Regions from separate parts of the Homo sapiens genome. Here regions 1, 2, 3, 5, 6 and 7 are each linked to region 4. Evidence: promoter capture Hi-C in 16 types of primary human blood cells and fetal thymus (Javierre and others, 2016). All regions are on one chromosome and are shown on one strand. The core of a region is centred on a gene start or on the middle of the fragment in contact, and the rest is flanking DNA. Distances in the headings are between cores, read along the strand shown. Region 1 overlaps LOC105369460 (a long non-coding RNA gene). Region 2 overlaps DCUN1D5 (defective in cullin neddylation 1 domain containing 5). Region 3 has its middle 5.7 kb from the start of BIRC3. Region 4 holds the start of MMP8 (matrix metallopeptidase 8). Region 5 overlaps BIRC2 (baculoviral IAP repeat containing 2). Region 6 has its middle 38 kb from the start of BIRC2. Region 7 has its middle 81 kb from the start of BIRC3.

Region 1 (3,176 bases), core at 383-2,882, 440 kb before region 4:
AATTGCACGTGCGCTATTATATTTGCAAGCGGGTTACATTGTCCTTGGATAAGAATTTTATATTCCCCGTGAGTCGGAGACTCTGTGCTCTGAATTATGTTGCTCAATTCAAGCGATGATCCAAGGCCAATGACAGTATACCAAGCTATCATTTCTTGGCAGGTCGAATAGTCATGTGTATATTTTATGTTCCTTATAAAAGTTAGGCGATATAAATATTGGTGATATGAAAGTTGATATTTTACATAAATTGTCAATTGCTAGTCAAACACGTCAAGGTTTTTTCTTTATGTGGTGGGGCTTTAAAATCTCAGCAGGGAGTTCTTTGAGTTTGAAGTGTCTCCCCTAAGCTTTCCATTTCAGACACTGTTTTTTTCCAAAACAGGTCTCAGTGTGTTGGTGTTTCCAAAGTGCAGATGATTCCTGTTCTTATTTTGTGGCTGTTCTTGCAGAATGCTATCAGCCCCAGATCTAGGGTAGAGGACAGGCTTGATTGGAGCCTTTGCCTGTTACAATGCATGATTCCACCACAGGCCAGCTGTGACCATTCCGCCCAGTGACAGCGTGGTTGTCTTTCCTCATAGGTGAAGGAGGTGACTTCTTATGGGACATGATTTCTGAAGCAGAAGTTTACCTGAGGTTCCTGGAAGAAATGTTTTCCCCACCTGTTGGCTCCCTGAGTATTAACATGCCAGATGCAAAGCTTCATTCATTCTATTAAAATGCAAATGAGCCCAACAGTGTAGTAAAACAGTTTGCTGCTAGAAGTTATTTACAATATTCTAAGAGTAACGCTCTTATTCACCCTAAGCACAGGTTTTAATAAAAAGTGGAAGGGATCGCAAGGGTATTGAGATCTCAGCAAGAGAAGGAAAGGGAAAAGGTTGTTTAAAAACAACATTAATAGAAGACATACCGTATAGAGAGAAAAACGCAGACTGTGCATGTTCAAGATAACTTTCATTACAATTTTGCCTAAGCCAGGGTGAATGCAAATGTTTCAGTTTTAACAGACTGGATCATTCATTCAAAAAGCATTTATTGAGTGCCTTCTCAAAAAAGAATGATAATTAGATTTTTTAAGTTATAAAGAAAATATAAAACCAAAACTGGAGAAATATACGCCAACATTTTTCCAATGGTTCCGTTGTCAAAGTAGAATTAGAATGTAAGTGCAGAGTTAAATTCCATTGTCTATCAAGAAGTAATTGTAAAGGAGCTATGTCTAAAAATGTATCTTTTCAGTGATTTTTGTTCTGAACAATCTTCTGCCTCAAATACATTTTGGATCTATGATTTGCAACCACTTTTTTTTGGTGGGTCAAGATACCAGCACTGTAACTTTAAGAAGTTCATCATTAGCATGCATTTAAAAAAATGTACCAAGTTAAGAAAAAAATTGAATAAATGTACATCTGTCTAAAGCAGGGGTTAGCAGAGTACAGCCTGCAGGTCAAATCCAGTCTACTGCCTGTTTTGTTTTTGTTTTTGTTTTTGTTTTTGACTAGAATGTTAAGATACATTTTTAAATGGCTGCAAAAAAAAAAAATCAAAAGGATAACATTTCATGACATGTTAAAAATTGTCTTCAATTCAAATTTCAGGGGCTGGGTGTGGTGGCTCACACCTGTAATCCCAGTACTTTGGGAGGCCGAGGTGTGTGGATCACCTGAGGTCAGAAGTTCAAGACCAGCCTGGCCAACATGGCAAAATCCCGTCTCCACTAAAAATACAGAAAATTAGCAAGGCCGTGTGCAGTGGCTCACGCCTATAATCCCAGCACTTTGGGAGGCCAAGGAGGGTGGATCATGAGGTCAGGAGTTCGAGACTAGCCTGGCCAACATAGTGAAACTACATCTCTGATACAAACACAAAAATTAGCTGGGCATGATGGCTCACGCCTGTAGTCCCAGCTACTCAGGAGGCTGAGGCAGGAGAATTGCTTGAACCTGGGAGGTGGAAGTTGTGGTTAGCCGAGATCGCACCACTGCACTCCAGACTGGACAACAGAGCAAGACTCCATCTCAAAAACAAAACAAAACAAAAACAATAAAAACAAATCAACAAATCCTGAAACCCTTCTTCCTAGCATTCCCTATCTACATTTTCTGCATTATTTAGCTTTATAGTATTTATCATTAACACAGCCTACATTTTACATATTTTTAAAAAATTGTATATCATTCCTTATTAGAATATTAATTAAATCCCAGGGATTTTTGTCTTTGTTTACTGTTGTATGCTGGAACCTAGAAGAGCATATGACTCCTATATATTGTAGTCGGTACTTGTTTGTTGTGTGTGTTAGTGGCTGAGCCAGGGCTTGTTGCAGACCTGCTTCCATGGTCAGGGAAGCTGGCAAGGTAATGGAATGAATGTGAGACTTTAACATCATATGTGTTTGGGTTCAGATTCTAATCCCAGCCTTTAGTAACTGTTGCAATTTGGAGTAGATTTCACCCAGATATCGGTGATATAAACAAGGAAAATGTTTATTCTTATTATTCTTTTGTGATAAAGAGGTCCAGCATTGATAGAGCAACTCCACAGTCATCAGGGACCCAAGCTTGTTCCACACCCCTTAGTATATGGTTTCCAATGGCCAGGCATGGTGGCTCACGCCTGTAATCCCAGCAGTGGGAGGCTGAGGCTAGAGGATTGCTTGAGCCTGGGAGTTCAGGACCAGCCTGGACAACATAGCAAGACCCCATCTCTACAAAATTAAAAAGAAAATTAGGCCGGGCACATTGGCTCACACCTGTAATCCCAGCACTTTGGGAGGCTGAGGCAGGTGGATCACCTGAGGTCAGGAGTTCGAGACCAGCCTGGCCAACATGGTGAAAACCTGTCTCTACTGAAAATATGAAAAATTAGCTGGGCTTGGTGACGGGCACCTGTAATCCCAGCTACTTGGGAGGCTGAGGCAGAATAACCGTTTGAACCTGGGAGGCGGAGGTTGCAGTGAGCCGAGATCGCGCCATTGCTCAAGAGTGAAACTCCGTCTCAAAAAAAAAAAAAAGAAAAAAAGTAGCCAGTAGTGATGACGCAAGCCTGTAGTCCTAGGTACTCGGAAGGCTCAGGTGGGGGATTGCCTGAGCCCAGGTGGTCAAAGCTGCAGTGAGCTGTGATCATGCCACTGCACTCCAGCCTGGATGACAGTGAGACCTTGTATGAAA
Region 2 (3,246 bases), core at 192-2,691, 350 kb after region 4:
CAGCATTTAAGCGTTTTACATGAGAAATGGTTTCTCCACACATTTAGTAGCCATATTGCCAGAAATGGAAATCAAAATTTGGATAAGTTAACCAGAATTCCTTATATATGAATGAATGCACAATATGCTTGATGAGGAAACAAGAAAAATTTATTCTTACTTATTAGAAATTCATTACCTACTATTTCACTAAGTGGTTTCTGTTAGTGCAAAAATTATTCATTATGTGAAAAATAATGCTTTAATGAAAGTTGACTTCTACCATGGGGATATGCAAAGCAAATTTCTCAGATTACATGCCACTATAATGTTTGAAAATATGGAGATGAAGTCTTCATAATGTGAGTCACATCTTTCATACAAAATCTCACACAGAATCTTAACAGGCTTGAGACTTAAGTGTTAAGGGGGCAAAGAAGATAAAGGATGCCTCCTGACATTCAAAGTTCTTTCTTTCCTTACCATCAGATTTAAAAAATCACTGTCATAGCATAACACAGGACCTGACATATAGCACTCCAAAAATATTTGTTAAATAAAAGTGTGACCACCAAAAATAAACCACAGGGTAGGTGATATATTTATTTAATTATATAATGTTTCAAAATTCCTATCTGGGAGAAACTTAGTGGTAAATGGTAGATCAAACAAAATCACAAAGCACATAGTGACTGAGAAGTCACTAAGGAGATAAGAATCCAAGATATTATAATATTTTCCAAATATTTTACATTTCATGGGTACACAAAGTTACTATCTTACTTATGTAATTTCAATAAGCTTAAGAAATAAAGTGAAGGGAAGAACAAATTTTCAAGTCAAACAGATTGGTTAAAATTCTAGCTTCTCTATTTCTGGTCATGTGGCTTTCAGCAAGTTACTAAACCGTTTTCAGCCTGTTTCCTCATTTTTAAAACGACGATAATAATTTAATAGGACAACTATATGGCAAGTTACTTAACCTTTTTCAGCCTCAGTTATCTGATTTTTAAAATGGTAACAATAATAATTTCATAGGACAACCATAAAGATTAAATGAGAATCCATGTGTTAAATGCTTAGCACAGTCCTTGATATGCTTCTTTTGAGGCAAATGGATTAAAAATCACCTACACTACACACCTTGGTAGAAACTACGTCATACCATTCCTAATGGTCTACTGTAAATCTTGAGCAGAGAAAGAATCCAACAGACTTTTTTGTAGTAAAAAAAGAATAGGCCAGCACGGTGGCTCACGCCTGTAATCCCAGTACTTTGGAAGGTCGAGGCGGGTGGATCACGAGGTCAGGAGATCAAGACCATCCCGGCTAACATGGTGAAACCCCGTCTCTACTAAAAATACAAAAAAAATTAGCTGGGTGTGGTGGCGGGTGCCTGTAGTCCCAGCTACTCAGGAGTCTGAAGCAGGGGAATGGCGTGAACCCGGGAGGCGGAGCTTGCAGTGAGCCGAGATCGCGCCACTGCACTCCAGCCTGGGAGACTGAGCAAGACGCCGTCTCAAATAAAAAAAAAAGAATAAGAGCACAAACCTCCATATTTATTAACAGTATCATGAAGACTGTGAACACATCTGGCAAAACCAACATACCGAAGCAGTTACTAACAGCAATACAATTTTTATATCGAATCTAGCTCCAAAATACTAACATCAATACCTCAGAAATTGGGAAGTTTAGAAAAAAGAATATTTCCTCCGAAATAAAAAGAAATGCATACTTAACTAGCGTACTATGGAAAGCAAGAGATAGTTTTCCAAATAACAACCAAATAAAACCACACAGATTTGAGGGAACACTGGCACAATACAATACACCATTCTCCAAGGCCACTGTAGTTAGAAAGAGAAGAAATGGGTATTAATTTCAACGTTAGGACTCGGAAATTAATTTCCTGGTATTGCTAAGCAACTGATTACAAAGGGAGGCTTTTGAACTTGTGTTTCATTAAAGACCTTTAAAGTGAGAAGAAAGTTTCATGCATGTATTAGATGTAAGTGAGGCTCTCTTCCTAATCCATAAGTCCCAGTGACTGTGCTGTGACACATTGATGTGTAACACGAAGAATTGTGTCACAAAGTTCTGGATTTAGAACTTCCTCTAAATAAGCTTTCTCAACCAGAACAATACCATCTACTTCTAGGGGTATTTGAAAATGTGCAGAGGGGCATTTTGAAATTGTCATAATGACCTTAAGAGAGAACAGAGGGAAAGGATGCTAATGGCAATTAGTAGTTGGGCCCCAAATGCTAAATGAATGACAGTCACATCACACACGATGGCATTTCATTTACTCTCCTCTTCCACCCCCACCAAAAAAAAAAATCATATAAATGTTCCCTATTCCCCTCTCGCTAAGACGGTCAAGCCATGCCATTCCTTTTACACTTCAAAGTCCGGGGCTCAATAGAGACTAGATTTACAAACTGCAACCTACCGGCAGGCAGCTTAATTACTATCACTGTTGTCAGATGCTCTTGTCTTGTCCTTTTCATTATCATAATCAAGTACGGTCCTCTTCAAAGGTCTATATTCAGTTTTCTCCACTGGTATAGTATTTCACCCTTGCTCCAACACCAGACTTTCAGCTAGCAGATATGAGAAAAGACCTCCACTCTAGTACACTATGCCAGAACAAAAACTCGCCAAGTATCCTTGAAACCTCGTATCTATAGACGAAGGAAGAGAAATTCCATAACCTCCTGAGAGCACATCAAATTTTTGTGTCTAGCAGTACATGTGCCTCTTAATGGGAACGAGGTCCATAGTTCTCATAAGACTCTCAAAAGAGACTGTGACTTTAAAATATTAAAAACAATTGCTCATTGAAAATTATCCCCCAAATCTTTTAAAATTCCTGTGCTTTAAAATCTCTGATGGTTTCCCAATATCTGTAACATAGATTTAAACTCTCTCAACGTATTAGCTAAAGCACTCTACAGTGAAGCCATCACTCAAAATATTAGAATTCAAAACCTATCCTGGCAATTTTTTTATGTACTTTACAATTTTAAGAAATCAAACTACTTCCTTCAAACATATGCTTTCCTTCCTCAAGGTCCTGCTCACAATTTCCCTCTTCTGAAACATTTTCCTGTATCCTCAACAAACAAAATCCTAATCATTCTTCATGTTCTAGTTCACAGGCCACACCTACATTTACCTACCTACTCAGCTGAAATTAACCTTACTCATCTGTGCTTTCATAGTATCTTGTATTTCCACTCTAGCACATGTCACGTTCTCCTT
Region 3 (3,338 bases), core at 402-2,901, 410 kb before region 4:
TCTCCAAACCCACGTGTAATCCTATTCTTCTGGAACACCAAAGCAAGAACCCTGAGATACAGAAAGCCCTCTGTCTTTGCGATAAGCCAGGGGTCTAATTGAGCTAACGTAAGCCGCCTATGGATGGCTAAACTAAAAGAGCACCCTGTAACACACGCCCACTGGGCCTTCAGCTTGAACATTCACCCCTAGACACTGCAGTGGTGTCAGAGCCCCACAGCCTGCCCGTCTGCATGCGCCCCCTAGAGGTTTGAGCAGCAGGGCACTGAAGAAGTGAGCCATTCCGTCTGTCGCAAGCCCTGCGAGGGGGACAAGGGAACTTTTTCCATTTATTTTATTTATGTATTTATTTATTTTTGAGACGGAATCTCGCTCTGTCACCCAGGCTGGGGTGTAGTGGGGCGATCTCAGCTCACTGCAACCTCCACCTCCCGGGTTCAAGCGATTCTTCTGCCTCAGCCTCCCGAGTAGCTGGGACTACAGGCGCACGCCACCACGTCTGGCTAATTTTTGTATTTTTAGTAGAGACGGGGTTTCACCATATTGGCCAGGCTGGTCTCCAACTCCTGACCTCGTGATCCACCTGCCTTGGGCTCCCAAAGTGCTGGGATTACGGGCATGAACCACCGCGCCCAGCCCTTTTTACATTTCAATAGTCCTAAATAGAAAAGTGAATATCACAAAGCTTCTAAAAGAAAATATAGAAGAAAATCTTCATAATCTTGGGATAGGCAAAGCGTTCTTAAACATGATATAAAACACACTGAACTTAAAAATATTATAAGTTGGACTTCATGGAATTAAAATATTCTACTTATCAAAAGAAACTATTAATGAAGCGTAAAGACAAGCTACAAATGGGGAGAAACTGTTCACAGTGCACATGTCAATGACAGGACTCAACCCAGGGTATATAAGGAATTCCCTGAAGTCAATCAATTCAATTTAAAAATTGGAGGAAGATTTGAACAGGCACCTCACAAAATATGATATCTAAAGTGTCGAGAAGCATATGGAAATATAGTCAACATCATTAATCAACAGGGATAGAAAAAAGCATAATGGGATGCCACCACATACCCAAAAGAAGAGCTAAACTTAAAAAGGCTCACAATACTAAGCCTTGGGAAAGATGTGTAGCAACTAGAACTCTTATACACTGCTGGTGAGAGTGTAAAATGGTGCAAAGACTTTGTAAAACTTTCGGCAATTTCTAATAAAAATAAAACATACACCTACCCAATGGCAATTCCGTATCCAGGTATTTAGCCAACAGGAAGAATTCATAGGTTCACCAAAAGAAAAACTAAAATGGGCTGGGCACAATGGCTGGGCACACCTGTAATCCTAGTACTTTGGGAGGCTGAGTTGGGCGGATCACTTGAGCTTGAGCTCAGAAGTTTGAGACCAGCCTGGACAACATAGTGAGACCTCATCTATATTATTAAAGAAAAAAAAATCTAAAATGTTTATAGGTTCTGGGCTGGGCATGGTAGCTCATGCCTGTAATCCTAGCACTTTTGGAGGCCAAGGCGGGCAGGTCACCTGAGCTCAGGACTTTAAGACCAGCCTGGGCAACATGGTGAAACCCCATCTCTACTAAAAGTACAAAAAATTAGCTGGGCATGGTGACTCGAGCCTGTAGTCCCAGCTACCGAGGAGGCTGAGGCACGAGAATCACTTGAACCTGGGAGGTGGAGGTTGCAGTGAGCTGAGATGGCACCACTGCACTCTACCTTGGGCAAAAAAGTGAGACTCTGTCTCAAAAAAAAAAAGTTTATAAGTTCTTTTCACAAGGGATTGAACCAGGCAACAACACAAATGTACATTAGCAGGAAAACAGAAAAAGAAACTATGGTAGGCCAGGCGCGGTGGCTCATGCCTGTAATCCCTGCACTTTGGGAGGCCAAGGCAGGTGGATCACCTGGGGTCAGGAGTTCAAGACTAGCCTGGCCAACATGATGAAACCCCATCTCTATTAAAAATACAAAAAATTAGCTGGGCGTGGTGGTGCACACCTGTAATCCCAGCAACTCAAGAGGCTGAGGCAGGAGAATCGCTTGAACCCGGGAGGTGGAAGTTGCAGTGAGCTGAGATCTCGCCACTGCACTTCAGCCTAGCCAACAAGAGCAAAACTCAGTCTCAAAATAAAAGAAACTATGGTATATTTATACAGTGGAATACTACTATGCAATAAAAAGAACAAATTACTGATACATGTTACAATATTGATGAAACTAAGAAATATGTTGAGTGAAGGAAGCCAGTATGAGTACACATCATATGATTTCATTTGTATGAAGTTCAAGGACAAACAAATGAGATCTAGGGTGATAAATCATAATAGTGATTGTGGGAGGGGGAGGGGTGGTGGGGGCATTATAGCTTGGTACTGACTGCAAAAGAGCATGAAAGAATTTTCTGAGGTAATGGAAGGTGTTCTTGATCTTGATCTGGTTGATAGTTAACTGAGTACATTCATTTGTCAAAATCATAAAGCTATACGCTTTTAATATCTGTGTACTTTACATGATATAAATTATATTTTATTAGAGTACTATCAGTATAAAATAAAGTAAGCCACCATTTATGAGGGGTAAACTTCATTATCTTGACTAAAGCTTTACATTAGAGGAGGTTTCTTTGTAAATTTGATCTTCGTTAGCACTTATTCAAGGCTGGTGTAATTGTATTTTATTTGCAAGATGTTAGAAAGTTATCAACAGACCAGGAAATTGTCAACATTTACAAGGACTCTCAGATTTGCTTTGGAATTAGAACAGTATGTTCCCTGTAAGATTTCACTTTCACTTTCAGTTCTAGATTCCTGGGTTTCTTTATACATAAAAATCTAAAAACTTACAGTGAAAAAGCATTAGGCTACAACTAAAGTTGTTACAACATTATGCGAAATTCCCTCCAGAGAAAAAATATTTTTAATAATAATTCCCCCAAGGGAAAAATACTTTTAAATTGATTATTTGATAATAGGATATTGAGAGCATACCGCTCTCAGGAATTGTCAGAGTTCTGAGCCAGGAATGGGATGAAAAACTCTGTCATTCATACCTTGCTCATACACTGACAGTAGAAAAAAACTGGAAAACCAAGAGGCCAAGTGTGGTGGCTCATGTCTATAATCCCAGCACTTTGGGAGGTCAAGGCAGATAGATGACTTGAGCCCAAGAGGCCAGCCAGGGCAACATCGCAAGGCTCTGTCTCTATAAAAAATACAAAAATTAGCCAAGCATGGTAGCCCGTGACTGTAGTCAGAACTACTCAGGAGGCTGAGATGGGAGGATTGATTGAGCCCAGTAGGTTGAGGTTATAGTGAGCTG
Region 4 (3,256 bases), core at 255-2,754:
TATACATAAAAGGGGCTGATTTTCTCTCACAATTCTGGAGGCTGGGAAGTCCAAGATCAGGTGGCTGCATCTGGTTGGCTTCTGAGATGGCCTTGTGCTGTGTCATAACATGGCAGAGAAACAAAAGGGGAGCAAGCATGTGTGAAAAGGGGCAAAACACAAAGGGCAGCCCCTCTTTATAATACCCATTCTATTAATTACTAATCCAGTTCTGCAAGAGCCAGAACCCACTCCAGCAAAAATTAATCCAGTCACACAAGAGTGTCATTAATCTTTCTTAATGACCTAAGTACTTCTTAAAGGACCCACTGTCACATGGGCTACTAAATCTTTAACACATAAATTCAAGGGACACACTCTAACCACAGCAGTAGGTGACACTGACCAGATCACACGCTTTGGAATCAGACAGGCCTGGGTTCAAATCTTAACTCTGCCATGAATTAACTGTGAGCACTTGGCCACATTATTTATCTGATTTAAGATATTTTTGTCTCTGAAATGAAAATAATAATGCTCCAATAAGGTTCTTGTGAGGATTAAATGAGATATTTGTGAAATGTGTAGCAGTTGCCTTGCATAGAATAAGCACTCAATGGACTTTACATTAACCCGGGGGTTACAATTAAGAGATAACCTCTTAATAATAATAATGCTTTCTCCAAACTATAATGCTAAGAAAACTGTGCATGAGAGATTTGTGACAGAATTCCCTTGTGTTTCTTAAAAATTTGGGTTCACTTTCAGACTGTGAAACAATGGAAAAAAACTATTGGTTCTGCTTTTATAATGCTTCCAAGAGTTTATAAACAGTCCACAATCTGATGCTGGGAAATATGATTTTACTGTGTACTGATTTCTAGTTCATTGTAATCTACCATCCTCACATTATTTTCTATATCTGGAATTTTTGGCGGCAAAGAAAATGCCTGTATGGAAGCACCAGACATATAGTAACTTGATTGCAGATATCCTGGAAGGAAAAACCTTAGGTAAATGAGAAAGAAAATGATACCATTTTATAAATAAAACCATTTCTTCTACAAAAGTTTCCCAACTAGGGGTAACTCTACAGCAGTATTTTCCCAGCCTTTAAAGAATTCAGCTTGTTTTCATGTCCGGCTTTTAAAAGGCCTAGTCCTTACCAGCTTGGAACCCTCCAAATCACTAAAAGGAGATGTTCAATCTCAAACTAATCACCCAAATAATTTCTTTCAGGCTGTTTTAATTAACAAGAGAAAACAACCCACACTATTTCCTAATAATCAGCAAATCAAACATCACCTAACTGATAGTTCATTTACCTGAACAGTTTTTGTATTTTTCTCTTTAGAAGATACAGGAAAGGCCTTGGAAATCTGCACATGGAGTAAGAGCAGAAATGGAAGCGTCTTCAGGGAGAACATGATCTTCTCTTCAAACTCTACCCCTCCTGGCTTTCTTTCTGTCCCTCTGGGTAGGGCCCTTCCCTGGCGAGCACCCTGACGTTCACAGCATCATGTGTCACTCACAGCTCTCTTGCAGTCCTCTTTAAAGCCATGTCTTAAACAATTGCTGCATCAGGAATATGAAGCAACATAGGTTAATTACACTCTGACAGTTTTGCAATTTTATAATGTGATTTAGTACCCCCAAATGGGGGAGTCTTTCAACAGTCTTTCAAAACTCCAACTTTCTACTCTTTGCTTTTGGATGTTTTAGTTATTTCCTTTTACAAAATTGGTTGAGGAAAAGGAACAAGGGACTAATCCTGAAGTTATGTGGATACATTTTTTGACTATGTAAGATGTTGAGGTTGAATTAACTTATGCAGGGGAATATTTTGAGGTTTGTGGTAGATATCTTGGGACCAAGGAGCCCAACTAGAGAATCTCTGTACTTACCCTCCCTCATTGTATGTGGAGAGAATGAGTGACTGTGTTATTACAAAGCAGGCTTTGTATGGGGCCTAGAGCTGCTTCTGGAGGATGTGGTTTGGTATCAACATATTAGAAAATCCCTAGTCTATAAGTTAGACTTTCCATGGAAAAGATAAAGAGAACAATACTGATGATGATAATAATGAACATTTGCTAAAAAATTATGATTGCCCAGACATTTGTACTGTGTTCCACATATTACCCCAATCCATCTTCACATAGCCTTGGGAGGGAGATGCTATTACTATCTCCATTTTACAGATGAAATCAAATCCAGAGACATTTAGATGACCTGTTTAAGTCACATGTTTCATTTGTGGAGGGGCCAGGATTCAACCCCAGAGGGTATGTTTAGAGAGACTGAGCTGGGAGCTACTATAAGCTCTGCATGGTAGTCTCCCACTTGAGTCTCTGGCTGGGCCATAGTGGAGCAGCAGCTCTAGGCCTTCAACAGCTGGATACTTTGGCTTATATTCACAGGCAGAAGACAAGGGAGAGGGAGAATGAGATGTTGTACATCTTCAAGGAGTAAGACACTGAGAGATTTCCAGACAATATGGCTACATAGGAGACTGTTTGTCAGAGGCCCCTGGGCATGCTTTTCAAATCATGTAACCTGGTCCCACTTATTCTGAGTCCACATGCATGTAGTTTGTTATCATACACAGTCTTTGTGAATACTCATTTACATATATGCATACATATTTGGTAAAGGCAGGTATTCTTGTGTATAAATGCATGTGTCTACATGTATGATACATAGCATGTATTAATATGTAAAGAGTGTATTTGAGATGCTATGATAAGGAGTTCTGATCTTTCCTGAGGTCACTTAGGAACTTTGAAAATGATCCAAAGAAAGGTGTCTTGGGTTAGAACATATCTGGACAGCAGATTAATGTTAATGATGTATATTCCTACATTCATTCAGTAAACATTTCCTGTCATCTACTACATGCCACATGCTGTGATGGGTGCTAGAGTATTGGAGATAAATTAATAGAGGTTTGGATAAAATGCTGTGGGTGTTTGGAGGAAACAGCAGTGGTGTGGAGGGAGTGAAATCAAGGAAGGTTTCATGAGGGAGGTGGAATTTGAACCGGATCATGAAGAGGTAGAATGTAGACATGCAGAGATGTAGCAACCCATTCTTTGTATTAATATAAATGTGACAGCTTCCTGCCAAATTGTTCAAAGATCACGGTCATGTTCATCCTCCTTGAGTTCATGGCTTAATGTGGCTTTCTTTACATTAGGTCTTTGGTGAAAAAATGCTTTTTCCTCCACGAAAATGCCTTAACATTGGTCTAACTCTATGTTGAGTTATTTTGATGCAA
Region 5 (3,323 bases), core at 292-2,791, 360 kb before region 4:
TATCTTTTGTGCATCTACTATTGGTTTCTACTTTGTGGCTATCATGAGGTTTACATAGAACATCTTATAGTTATAGTAGTCTGTTTCAAGCACTAACAACTTAATTTCAATTGCATTAAAAAACTGTACTGTTACTCAGACCCTCCTGCACATATTTTATGTTTTTGATGTCATTATTTGCATTTTATATTGTGTATTCATGAAAAAATTATTGAAGCTATAGTTATTTTTAATACTTTTTTTTAAAAACCTGTATTTTAGAATTAAGTAATTTACACATGACCATTACAAATTTAGTATATTATTAATTTGATTATATATTTATCTTAACAGTGAGTTTCATACTTTCATATGTTTCCATGTTGCTAATTAGTGTCCTTTCATTTCAGCTTGGAGAACTCTTCAGCGTTTCTTGTAAGGCGCGTCCAGTGGTGATAAACTCCCTCAGCTTTTGTTTGTCTGGGACTGTTTATATCTCTTTCATTTCTGAAGGACAGCTTTGCTGGGATACATATTCTTGTCTGGTAGTTTTGTCTTTCAGCACTTTGAATATATCATCCAACTCTCTCCTGGCCTACAAGGTTTTTGCAGAGAAATCCACTTGTGGTCTTATAGGGTTTCTCTTGTAGAAGATGAGTTTCTTTTCTGTTACAGTTTTAAAATTCTCTTTCATCTTCTATTTTTGCCAGTTCATTATAATGTGTGTCAGTGAAGTCTTCTTTGGGTTGAATCTTTATGGGGTCCTATGAACTTCCTGTACCTGGATATCTTTCCCTAGATTTATGAAGTTTTCAGCATTTTTTTTTTAAATCAGCTTTCTGTCCTTTCTCTCTTTTCCTTCTTGAATTCTCGGGTTTGTTTTTCATTTTCTTGGGTTTTTTTTTTTGATGGTGTCTTGTTCTGTCACCCAGGCTGGAGTGCAGTGGCATGATCTCAGCTCACTGCAACCTCCACCTCCCAGGTTCAAGTGATTCTCCTGCCTCAGCCTCCCACGTAGCTGGGACTACAGGTGTGCACCACCATGCCCAGCTAATTTTTGTATTTTTAGTAGAGACGGGGTTTTGCCATGTTGGCCAGGCTGGTCTTGAACCCCTGACTTCATGTGATCCACCCGCCTCAACCTCCCAAAGTGCTGGATTACAGGTGTGAGCCATCGTGCCTGGCCTTGAATTCTTAAAATGCAAATATTGTTTTGCTTGATGGTGTCCTATAATTCAGGTAGGCTTTCTCCACTATTCTTTTTTTTTTCTTTTTTTCTCCTCTGACTAGATAATTTCACATGATCTGCCTTTGAGTTCACAGGTTCTTCTGCTTGATCAGGTCTGCTATTGATGCTCTCTATTGCATTTTTTGTTGTTATGTTCTTCAGCTCCCGAATTTGTTTCTTTTTATTATTCCTATCTCTGTGTTGAATTTCTCATTTGTTTGTATATATTTTTTTATTTCATTATCTGTGTTCTTTTGTAGCTCACTGAGTTTGCTTGAAACAATTATTTTGAATTCTTTATCTGTTAGTTCATAGATCTCCATTTCTTTGTGGGTGATTACTGGAAAATTACTGAGTTTCTTTGCTAATGTCACGTTTCTTTTTTTTTTTTTCTTTCTGTTTCTTGTGGCCTTGTGTTATCTGTGTATTTGATGGACGAATTACTTCTAGACATTACAGATTAGTGTGTTTTTTTTGTTTTTTTTTTTGTGGGCAAAGATCTTTGCCTGTGGGTGAGGGTGAGGGTGAGGGCGCCAGCCAGTAGGTGTGGTGGTTCTGGCTCTGTGGAAGGCCCAGCATTGTGAACTCCATGCAGCTCCATTAGCCCAGATCATTGTCAGTGAGGATTGCAGGGGTCCTCAACATCCAAGGCTGCAGGTATCCATACCAGCAGCAAGGCTTTTTTTAGTCTATAGTGGCAGAGGCTGCTGGGGACCTCTTCATCACTTTTTCTCCCATGGGAGACATTGTGGCCAAGGGGATTCTTCTTGGCACAGGTTCTGGCTTTGGGCTTGTTGTGTTGGTGGAGGTGGCAGCACTGATGTCTCTGATGGCGTGGACACCTGTGGAGCAGCTACAGAGCCAAGGTTTGGAGTGCAAGTGTTTGCAGAAAGACAGCGGGTCTTGGGTTCAGGATGTTGACTAGCCTGCAGCAGTGGTGCTTCTAGTGCCTCAGATGTGGGTGCACGTAGAGCAGCCTTTGAGTTGGGTGCGGAGTGCAGGTGTGCAGAGCAGCCAGAGAGCTGGGATCTGGAGAGTGTGTGATTAGAGCAGCCACAGAGCAAAGGTCTTACATGAAGGTACATGTGAAGCAGCTGTGGCTCTGGGGTCTGGGGCATATGTGGGGGTTAGGGGCTGCACTGTCTGGGCAGTGCAAGAGCTGCTTTTTTTCAGGGTGAGGAGTGCAGTAGTGTCTCCCTCTCCAGGGGGTTCACAGCAGCAATGGGTGCTGGTTACCTTAATGGTGAAAGCTGTCAGTGTCCTCTGCAAAGTAGGCTACTGGGGTTGGCATCAATGAACACTATAGGGTCCTTCACTGTGAAACCTGCAGGAAGTCTGTGGCTATCTTGAGGGTTATTGGAGGTCTCCAGGGACCTGCTCTGGGGAGGAGCCTAGCAGTCTTTGCCACTGAGGACTGTAATGGCACTCACCACATGACTGATACAGGTAGCCCTCACCCCTTGTTCTTAGCCATCTCCAGATGTCTCTGCTAAGCAGATCTCCCAGCAGTCCTTTCTGTGTGGTTATTCTCCCTTTTTTTTTTTTTTCCCTTTATTGCTGTAGGCTGATTGGGCTAGTGAGTTCTTCCAGAGCTGTATTTGTGTATAGCTGTCTGTTTGTTGTTTTTTGTGGGTGGAAGAAGGCTGATGTCTCCTAGTCTGCTGTCTTGCTGATGTCACTCTTGCAAACTTTCAGTCTGCGGCTTTTCATTTCTTTAACATTGTCTTTTGAAGAGCAGATGTTTTCAATTTTGATGATGTCAATTTATCAATTTTATCTTTTGTGGAATATGTTTTTGGTCTTTTGTCTAATAATTCTTTACCCAATGTAAAGACAAATAAAGACAAGGCTTTTTCCTAGAAGTTTTATTGTTTTTGGTTTTATATTTAGGTATATGATCCATTTTTACTATTTTTGCATATAATATGGGCATAGGTCAGTGTTCCTTTTTTTTAACATATGAATATTCTGTTGTATAGTATCATTTATTGAAGAAACAAAAGGAATAGAATAGATATAGATGGTATGTGAACTTCTTGGAACATCTTTGAGAAGCCCTATCAGTTTAAAAACAAATATTTGAGAAACACTGTCATATTATATATAGATAAAAATA
Region 6 (3,305 bases), core at 551-3,050, 340 kb before region 4:
ACAAATTATGGGTTTTGCTATCTAGACTTCTTTCTTTAGGTAAAGAAGAGCTGTAGGTTTTTAAGCAGAGGAGTTATATGATTTTAGGTATTATTCACAAAGAACAATGTAGTGGCAGAATTGGATTTCCATATAAAAGGGGTTTGGGAAGGCAAGTTGTTTAGGCTTGAAGCCACATTCATAAAGCACCATTAGTATTTTGTTGAAGATTTTTGCATCTGTATTTGTAACGGATATTGGTTTCTAGTTTTTTGTGGTATGTTTGTCTAGATTTGGTATCAGGGTAATACTGGTCTCATAGAATGAGTTAGGAAGTGTTCCTTATCAGCTGATTTTTTTCCTTTTATATACCCTTGGGTGCAGAGAACTGGAGGTTCCTGGAAATTCCATTCCTGATCCCACAGCAGAGAAACAGGATAGAACAACATGTCCTGAGAGACCTTTTGATACATGCCTTCCTCTCAACTTTTTGAAGCAGCAGCACTAGCAGCAGAGAACAAGGAATAGAAGAAAAATAGAAAACGAACAGGTTTGAAGCGTGGTAAAAGTTCTGTGTAAAAGAGGTGGCACTTTACCTGGTTCTTAAAAAATTTTTTTTAAAGTGATTATGATTAATGTTTTAATAGAAAGGGGAAAAGTCTTTGAGTAGCTGGGAGGTGATAAATCTAGATATTTTTGCACAGAAAGGCCATCTTTTCCTGAGATGAGAAGGAAGAGGGTTAGGATGTGAAACAGGAAAAGTTCCCTTGTCCCCCTTGCAGAGCATGCGATGAGGGTGACTCGCTTCTTCAGTGCCCCGCTGCTCAAACCTCTAGGGGAGCATACCAATGGGCAGGCTGTAGGGCTCTGACCCTATGGCAGGGTCTAGGGGTGAATTTTTACAGCTGAAGCCCCAGTGGTCATGTGTTACAGGGTGCTCTTTTAGTTTAGCTGTCCGTAGGTGGCTCGTGTTAGCTCAGACCCCTGCCTTATCTCAAGGACAGAGGGCTTTCTGTATCCCAGGGTTCTTGCCTTGGTGTACCAGAAGAACTGAATCACACATGGGCTTGGAGAATGAGTGTAAGCTTTTGAGTGGAAGTAACTCTCAGCAGATGAGGGAGCCAGAAGGGAGATGGTTTTCCCCTGGAGTCTGGCCGCTCGGCGGTCCGGGCTCTCCTTCAACTGCCCCAGCCAAACTCTCCACCTCATTCCGCTGGTTGATGGCCTGCTGGTGTGCTGGCGTGCTCCCCTCAATGTCCTCTTGACGTCCAGCTGCTTGTGTGTTCCTCTGCTCATGTGCCCCCTCTCGACATCCAGCTGCCTGTTTGTCTGCCTGTGGCGGGATTGATAAGGAATCAGAGAGACCGATGGGGTTGAGGAGGATATTCATTATTTAGATGCATTGGCCTAGTCGGATTAACATCCAAAGGACTGAGCCCTGAACAAAGAGTTAAGTTACCTTTTAAGCATTTCTTGGGGTGGGGGGAGATCTCTTCAGGGGGAAGCATATTACAGAAGCGAGAAACAAAGACAGTTATTTAATTAATTGAGACATGCATTACATCATTTATTACTTTTCAAGGAAAAACATGTTTTATGACTTGAGTTTATCTGTCTATTGACCTTGCAGCTGCACAGCCAGAGAAACAGGGTCTTCACAATGCCTGGGAAAGGAGGAGAGATAAGGCTCACTAGCCACAGAAAAACAGGCAGTTAATTTTTAAAGGACTCCAGCTCTTTCTCTTTGTCTTTCTCAGGGGGAACTGGGTTTTCTTACATACAACTGAGTTTCTGCTTACACATTCCTTCATTTCTTTTAATTCCTGTTCCATGCCTGCTAGGGTCTCAGGGTTTTTATAGGCACAGGATGGGGCTGTGGCAGGCCAGGGTGGTCTTGGGAAATGCAACATTTGGGGAGGAAAACAAAAATGCCTGTCCTCACCTAGGTCCGTGGGGTTGGAACCCTAGCCAGGGACTGCGCCCTCTTCTACCCAGCACTTCCCTTCCCCACTTCCATATCATTTGAAGGGACCAAGCCCTTCCCTTTCCAGCACTTCCCTGGCCCCCTTCCGTATCAGATGGATGGGTATAGCTGCAGGAAAAGAGAAGGAAGCTGAGTTCTTTATGTTCACAATAGAAATCTTCCAGGTCTTAATCTTAGATTTCCAACTTGTCTTCCTCTTTTTTGTGAGGTTGTCAGCTGCTTATATCCGGAGATGTCTGTTAAATTGGGTTCTAACCTCTACTACAAGCCCACTAATCTGTATGATCACACAATAGCAGAGTAGGCATAAAATGTTTGTATTTATCAAATGTTTCATTTTAGTATGCATTATTTCTTCAGAAGTTGTTGGTTTCTCTGCACTCTCATACACAACATTTGCAAGGATCAAAAATAAACATTTATTTGAAGCATTTTCAGAGGATATAATGAAAACTGGTTTTGGCTATAAACATTTAATGAAAATGTAGATTGTATATACCATATATTGATTCCTTGCATAGAACAGAAATTTAGTTTTCCTATGAAATTAAATGCAATGAACCCATATGCAAAAGAAGCTTGATTCTGCTTTATAAAGTTCTAAATCAGGCAATACTAATCTATGGTGTTAAAAGTCAGTTGTTATCTAACAACTAGGGAAGAATGGTTGGGAATACCAGGGGCACTTCTGGAGTGCTGGTAATGTTCTAGTCTTTGACCTAAGCGGGAGTTAGATAGGTTTGTTCACTTTGTGATGATTCATTGTGCTATGTACTTTAAAAAAAAAAACTTTTAAAGTTGACAAAACTTTATTACATATTGTATAATATGTTTTGACATATGTATACCCTGTGGAATGGCTAAATGAAGAAAATTAACATACGCATTACCTCATTTTCTTTTGTGGTCAGAATACTTAAAATCTACTCTCAACAGTTTTCAAGTCTACATCATATTGTTGTTAACTATAGTCAGCATGATATTCAGTAGATCTCTTGAATGTAATCTTCCTGTCTAACTGAAACTTTATATCCTTTGATGAACTCCCAGTCCCCAGAGCCTCTGGTAACCACCATTATAGTCTCTGCTTCTATGAGTTCAACTTTTTTAGATTCCCATATCATAAGTGAGATCATGCAGTATTTGTCTTTCTGTGCCTGGCTTATTTCACTTAACATAATGCCCTCCAGGTTCATCCATGTTATCACAAATGACAGGGTTTCATTCTTTTCTAAGGCTAAATAGTTTTACATAGTGTATGTATACCACATTTTCTTTATATATTCATGAACATGGGAGTAGAGATATCTCTTCAACATGCTGATTTCAGATCTTTTAGGTA
Region 7 (3,634 bases), core at 777-3,276, 490 kb before region 4:
CTGCAGAAGTGATCGGTAGACTGGGGGTTTTGTTTAATTCCCCAACCCCGATTTCCATTTCTTGACAGCTGAGGTTACAAAAGAAAGGCAGCCCCAAGGAGCTGATGATGTTTTCTTACCTTCTCTAATGGCAGCCAGACTCTCCCTGCTTCTGTAATCATCAGTTTTACTGACAGAAAACCTGGCTTTATTGCGGGTAAATTCCTGGCTCCGGGGTTCCACATGTGCTAACGCTGTTGGAATCAACAGTAGCTCTGGCAGGATGTCTGCCATGTCATCCCTATTCAACTTTAAACTGTTGGCACTTAGTCTTTTTTAGCCATGAGAACTTTGTGATAAATCTTTTTTGATTTAAAGCTTAACTACTAAATTAAAATTCAGATGAGAAGTCGGTGACATTTAGTACTACAGTTTTTCCAAGTCACACATAAAATATGTTTTGCTACCTTGAACACAAAAAGCTCTGACATAGGTAAAATGGATAATTTCTTAACCATAAACATAGCCTTAATACTGCCACAAATGAAAACAGTTGCAGAATCAAGACATGAGCAAAACAAAATGACACTGAAAAGGTATTCTGAATTAAAGTCTGCCGTATTTTAACAAAAAACAAAACTCCCAAAGTGACCTGACTTACAAGCTGCTATGATCCTGTTAGAAACAAAAAACCTAGTATCTTTGCCACTGAAAGCAATTATTTGGAGACCTCTTAGCAAAGGGTCTACTTCTGTAAAATTTTTGAACACCTAGTCTAGTTAACTTAAAAACAAACTTTAACTGTTAAAGAAACAAGAACTAGAGGTACTGTAACTTTGTGAAATTGGTATTGGTTTGCACTCAGTTAGTGGACAGGGCTTGATTTTTTTGTAAAAGGAACTTGTAAAAACTTCTTAGGGTTGTGACATACCTTTCCCCACGTTTCCTTACATCTTGTCCCAGGTATATTTTTGTGGAATTATAGTTCCCACGACCTTCATAGAATCTATATAAAATATGAGTTAAACTTCACATTTGGTTGTAATTTTACTTGGGATATTATTAGAAGCCACATCTCAGTTCTTTTTTTTTTTTTTTTTCTTTTTTTGAGACGGGGTCTCGCTCTGTCACCCAGGCTGGAGTGCAGTGCCGCAATGTCAGCTCACAGCAACCTCCACTTCCTGGGCTCAAGCAGTTCTCGTGCCTCAGCCTCCCAAGCAGCTTGCGCCACCCACCCAGCTAATTTTTGTATTTTTTGTAGAGACGTGGGGTTTCACCATGTTGTCCAGGCTGGTCTCAAACTCCTGAGCTCAAGTAATCAATCTGCCCACCTCCACCTTCCAAAGTGCTGGGATTACAGGCCTGAGCCACCACGCCGTGCCCCACATCTCAGTTCCTTTTAAAGCATTTGTTCTGTTTCAAATCGGGTTTTTATGTTACAGTGGATTTACACAATTAAAATGATAGCATATCTGGCAAACTTGAACTAATTTTCTCAAGGATCTGGATTAAATGGCAGGATCTGAGAGAAAATCTCCTGTCTATCAGTGCTATCACCAAGAGCTACTGAAGCCAGCTACTCAAAGCTGAGCTTCACTAGTGATGCAGCCATTGGGAAACCTAGCTAAAGACACTTCCTCCTCCTTCAGGGAACCTCTCAGCAACTTGTATTTGGCACTTTTTTCTACTGAATAAGAGGTAAAGCCTGGCACGGTGGCTCACGCCTGTAATCCCAGCAATTTGGGAGGCCAAGGCAGGCAGGTTACCTGAGGTCAGGAGTTCAGGACCAGCCTGGACAACATGGTGAGACCCCGTATCTACTAAAAATACAAAAATTCGTTGGCTGCGGTGGCAGGCAGCTGTAATTCCAGCAACTGGGGAGGCTGAGGCACGGAGAATTGCTTGAACCCAGGAGGCGGAGGTTGCAGTGAGCTGAGATCGCGCCACTGCATTCCAGCCTGGGCAACAGAGCGAGACTCTGTCTCAGGGGGAAAAAAAAAAAAGGAAGAGGAGGTAAACACATCTGCAGGCAGAGTTCAGCAGAGGCATCTGCCTCATGGGCTGTAGCCCAGTGGATTCTAAATGATACTAGGATCACAACTAGATAAGACTGATCACTTGGATGACCGTGAATTAAGACCTTAGATTTTATAAGAGATACAATGGCTCATATTCAGGGACAGCCAGACTGTTAGGTAATTTGAAGTCACACCACAAAAACCACATGTGCATCATCTTCCAAAAGGAGGCCATTTGCTGAGGTGTTTTGTCTCTGAGCACTAGTAAGTCTGTTGAGCCCTGTAAAATAATCCCAAATGGGACTGCCCAGTGAAGAATGTGGACTTGAGATTTAGTTGTTCTTTTACAGTCCAAATCATTGAAAGACAGCATAGCTTTTCTGTATTCTAGGCCAAAGGAATTTCTGTGGAATTCTGCTATGGGAGTTTCAGAAAACCAGCCTAAGCCCATTTAGTGTCATTCAGAAAACAGCTGATGCTTCATTGAGGGGCAGCGGGCGGGGATGGGGGTGACGGGTGCTTAACAGCCAACTCACAGCTCACCTTCGAGGCCACATCTTTATCTGGAATGCAGTGGCAAACCCTACCCCAAATTCAGGATGTTGCTGAGGAAATTTTCCACTGATTTGAGCTAAAACTTTGACTAAATCCCTATCAGTCTTCCAAAATCACTGAAGAAAAATTCTCAATACCTGAACATCTCCAGTGTTCTCATAGTTTTGTTGTTCTATCCTGGTCACTATGACAAATTTGAAAGGCAGATTATTCCAATTAAGTTGGTGTCCCACTGCCATCACTTACTGTGGGATTTGGAGTCTCTCAGACTTTTTCTCCATCAGGGGTAAAGTGAACGTACTACAATTTGCACTATCTCAAGACACTGATAAAGAAGATCAAAGTGTTATAAAAGCAACTGGTAAACCGTTAACATTCCTTAAAAGTGATACTGTATTTTAAAATCACTATGACCTTTTCTCAATATCATCTTGTTTAAAGACATAGTATTATTGAATAATTCAAAATAGTCCTTCAAACTTGAGTAGGTCTACCCAGGGCATCTGCATAAGTACATGAGGCTCTGTCTTGTTCTGTCATTAAGATGCACACCATCTTCAATTTTATAAGTATGCTATTTGTTTTTCAGTATTTTAATATTCTGTAATTACTGAGATGCTCCCACATATGATCTCCTTGTTTGGTCATACCAAGATCAAATAAGACATAATTATTACAATTCCTAATTGTGTGCCTCAAACCTAGGTTTAAATCCCACACTATGGCTGTGAGATGACTAGAAGTTGAGGGGGTAGCCCATAACTGGAAAATGCTTTCTGTATACAAGGCTAACCGTATTCCCTGGGGCTCAAAATTGTCTTCTCAGTTATGAGCTTCCCTACCTCTGGCCCCACTGCAGGTAGGACTTTGCTCTCCACACAGAGGGAATCCTAGGAAAATTGCCACAACAATAGGACAATGCTGTAACAGGTTAGATCTTCCATCCATTTTAAAAAATCATGTACATTTGCTCAACAAACACACTTGGAACATATTCCAACTTGAGTAATAAGTGGCATGGTAACTTCCTCAGGGAGCTTACCAAGAGTAAAGGTAAGACTGTTAAGTGCTGAAGTTAGTTC

What was found. The method cuts DNA at HindIII sites, captures the fragments that hold promoters and counts their contacts. A CHiCAGO score of 5 or more calls a contact.
Region 1: a fragment that was not itself captured here is called in contact with the fragment with the promoter of MMP8 in region 4 in 4 of 17 cell types (M0 macrophages, M1 macrophages, monocytes and 1 more); the score reaches 17.6 in M0 macrophages.
Region 2: a fragment that was not itself captured here is called in contact with the fragment with the promoter of MMP8 in region 4 in 4 of 17 cell types (M0 macrophages, M1 macrophages, monocytes and 1 more); the score reaches 8.3 in M0 macrophages.
Region 3: a contact is called between a fragment that was not itself captured here and the fragment with the promoter of MMP8 in region 4, in 4 of 17 cell types (M0 macrophages, M1 macrophages, M2 macrophages and 1 more). The highest score is 17.7, in M0 macrophages.
Region 5: a fragment that was not itself captured here is called in contact with the fragment with the promoter of MMP8 in region 4 in 4 of 17 cell types (M0 macrophages, M1 macrophages, monocytes and 1 more); the score reaches 12.6 in M0 macrophages.
Region 6: a contact is called between a fragment that was not itself captured here and the fragment with the promoter of MMP8 in region 4, in 2 of 17 cell types (M0 macrophages and M1 macrophages). The highest score is 9.0, in M0 macrophages.
Region 7: a fragment that was not itself captured here is called in contact with the fragment with the promoter of MMP8 in region 4 in 5 of 17 cell types (M0 macrophages, naive B cells, M2 macrophages and 2 more); the score reaches 5.8 in M0 macrophages.

What each region holds. Positions count from the first base shown.
Region 1 is chr11:102,279,944-102,283,119 of GRCh38, forward strand. It overlaps LOC105369460 (a long non-coding RNA gene), which reads left to right. Exons shown (of 5, transcript XR_007062863.1): 5 at 1-1,296. Among named protein-coding and RNA genes, the nearest start is that of BIRC3, 36 kb to the right of the region's middle. The HindIII fragment of the contact is 1,863 bases long and covers 702-2,564 here.
Region 2 is chr11:103,075,700-103,078,945 of GRCh38, forward strand. The region is part of intron 4 of DCUN1D5 (defective in cullin neddylation 1 domain containing 5); the gene reads right to left. Among named protein-coding and RNA genes, the nearest start is that of DCUN1D5, 15 kb to the right of the region's middle. The HindIII fragment of the contact is 1,326 bases long and covers 779-2,104 here.
Region 3 is chr11:102,310,115-102,313,452 of GRCh38, forward strand. No RefSeq gene overlaps it. Among named protein-coding and RNA genes, the nearest start is that of BIRC3, 5.7 kb to the right of the region's middle. RefSeq lists an enhancer at 104-398. The HindIII fragment of the contact is 1,936 bases long and covers 684-2,619 here.
Region 4 is chr11:102,723,450-102,726,705 of GRCh38, forward strand. MMP8 (matrix metallopeptidase 8) reads right to left here and starts at 1,505. Exons shown (of 10, transcript NM_002424.3): 1 at 1,305-1,505. The coding sequence starts at 1,406. RefSeq lists an enhancer at 712-1,911. The HindIII fragment of the contact is 5,644 bases long and covers 1-3,256 here.
Region 5 is chr11:102,359,101-102,362,423 of GRCh38, forward strand. All of the region lies in intron 3 of BIRC2 (baculoviral IAP repeat containing 2), which reads left to right. Among named protein-coding and RNA genes, the nearest start is that of BIRC2, 14 kb to the left of the region's middle. RefSeq lists an enhancer at 2,351-2,400. The HindIII fragment of the contact is 5,897 bases long and covers 1-3,323 here.
Region 6 is chr11:102,383,644-102,386,948 of GRCh38, forward strand. No RefSeq gene overlaps it. Among named protein-coding and RNA genes, the nearest start is that of BIRC2, 38 kb to the left of the region's middle. The HindIII fragment of the contact is 1,477 bases long and covers 1,063-2,539 here.
Region 7 is chr11:102,235,045-102,238,678 of GRCh38, forward strand. No RefSeq gene overlaps it. Among named protein-coding and RNA genes, the nearest start is that of BIRC3, 81 kb to the right of the region's middle. The HindIII fragment of the contact is 3,342 bases long and covers 356-3,634 here.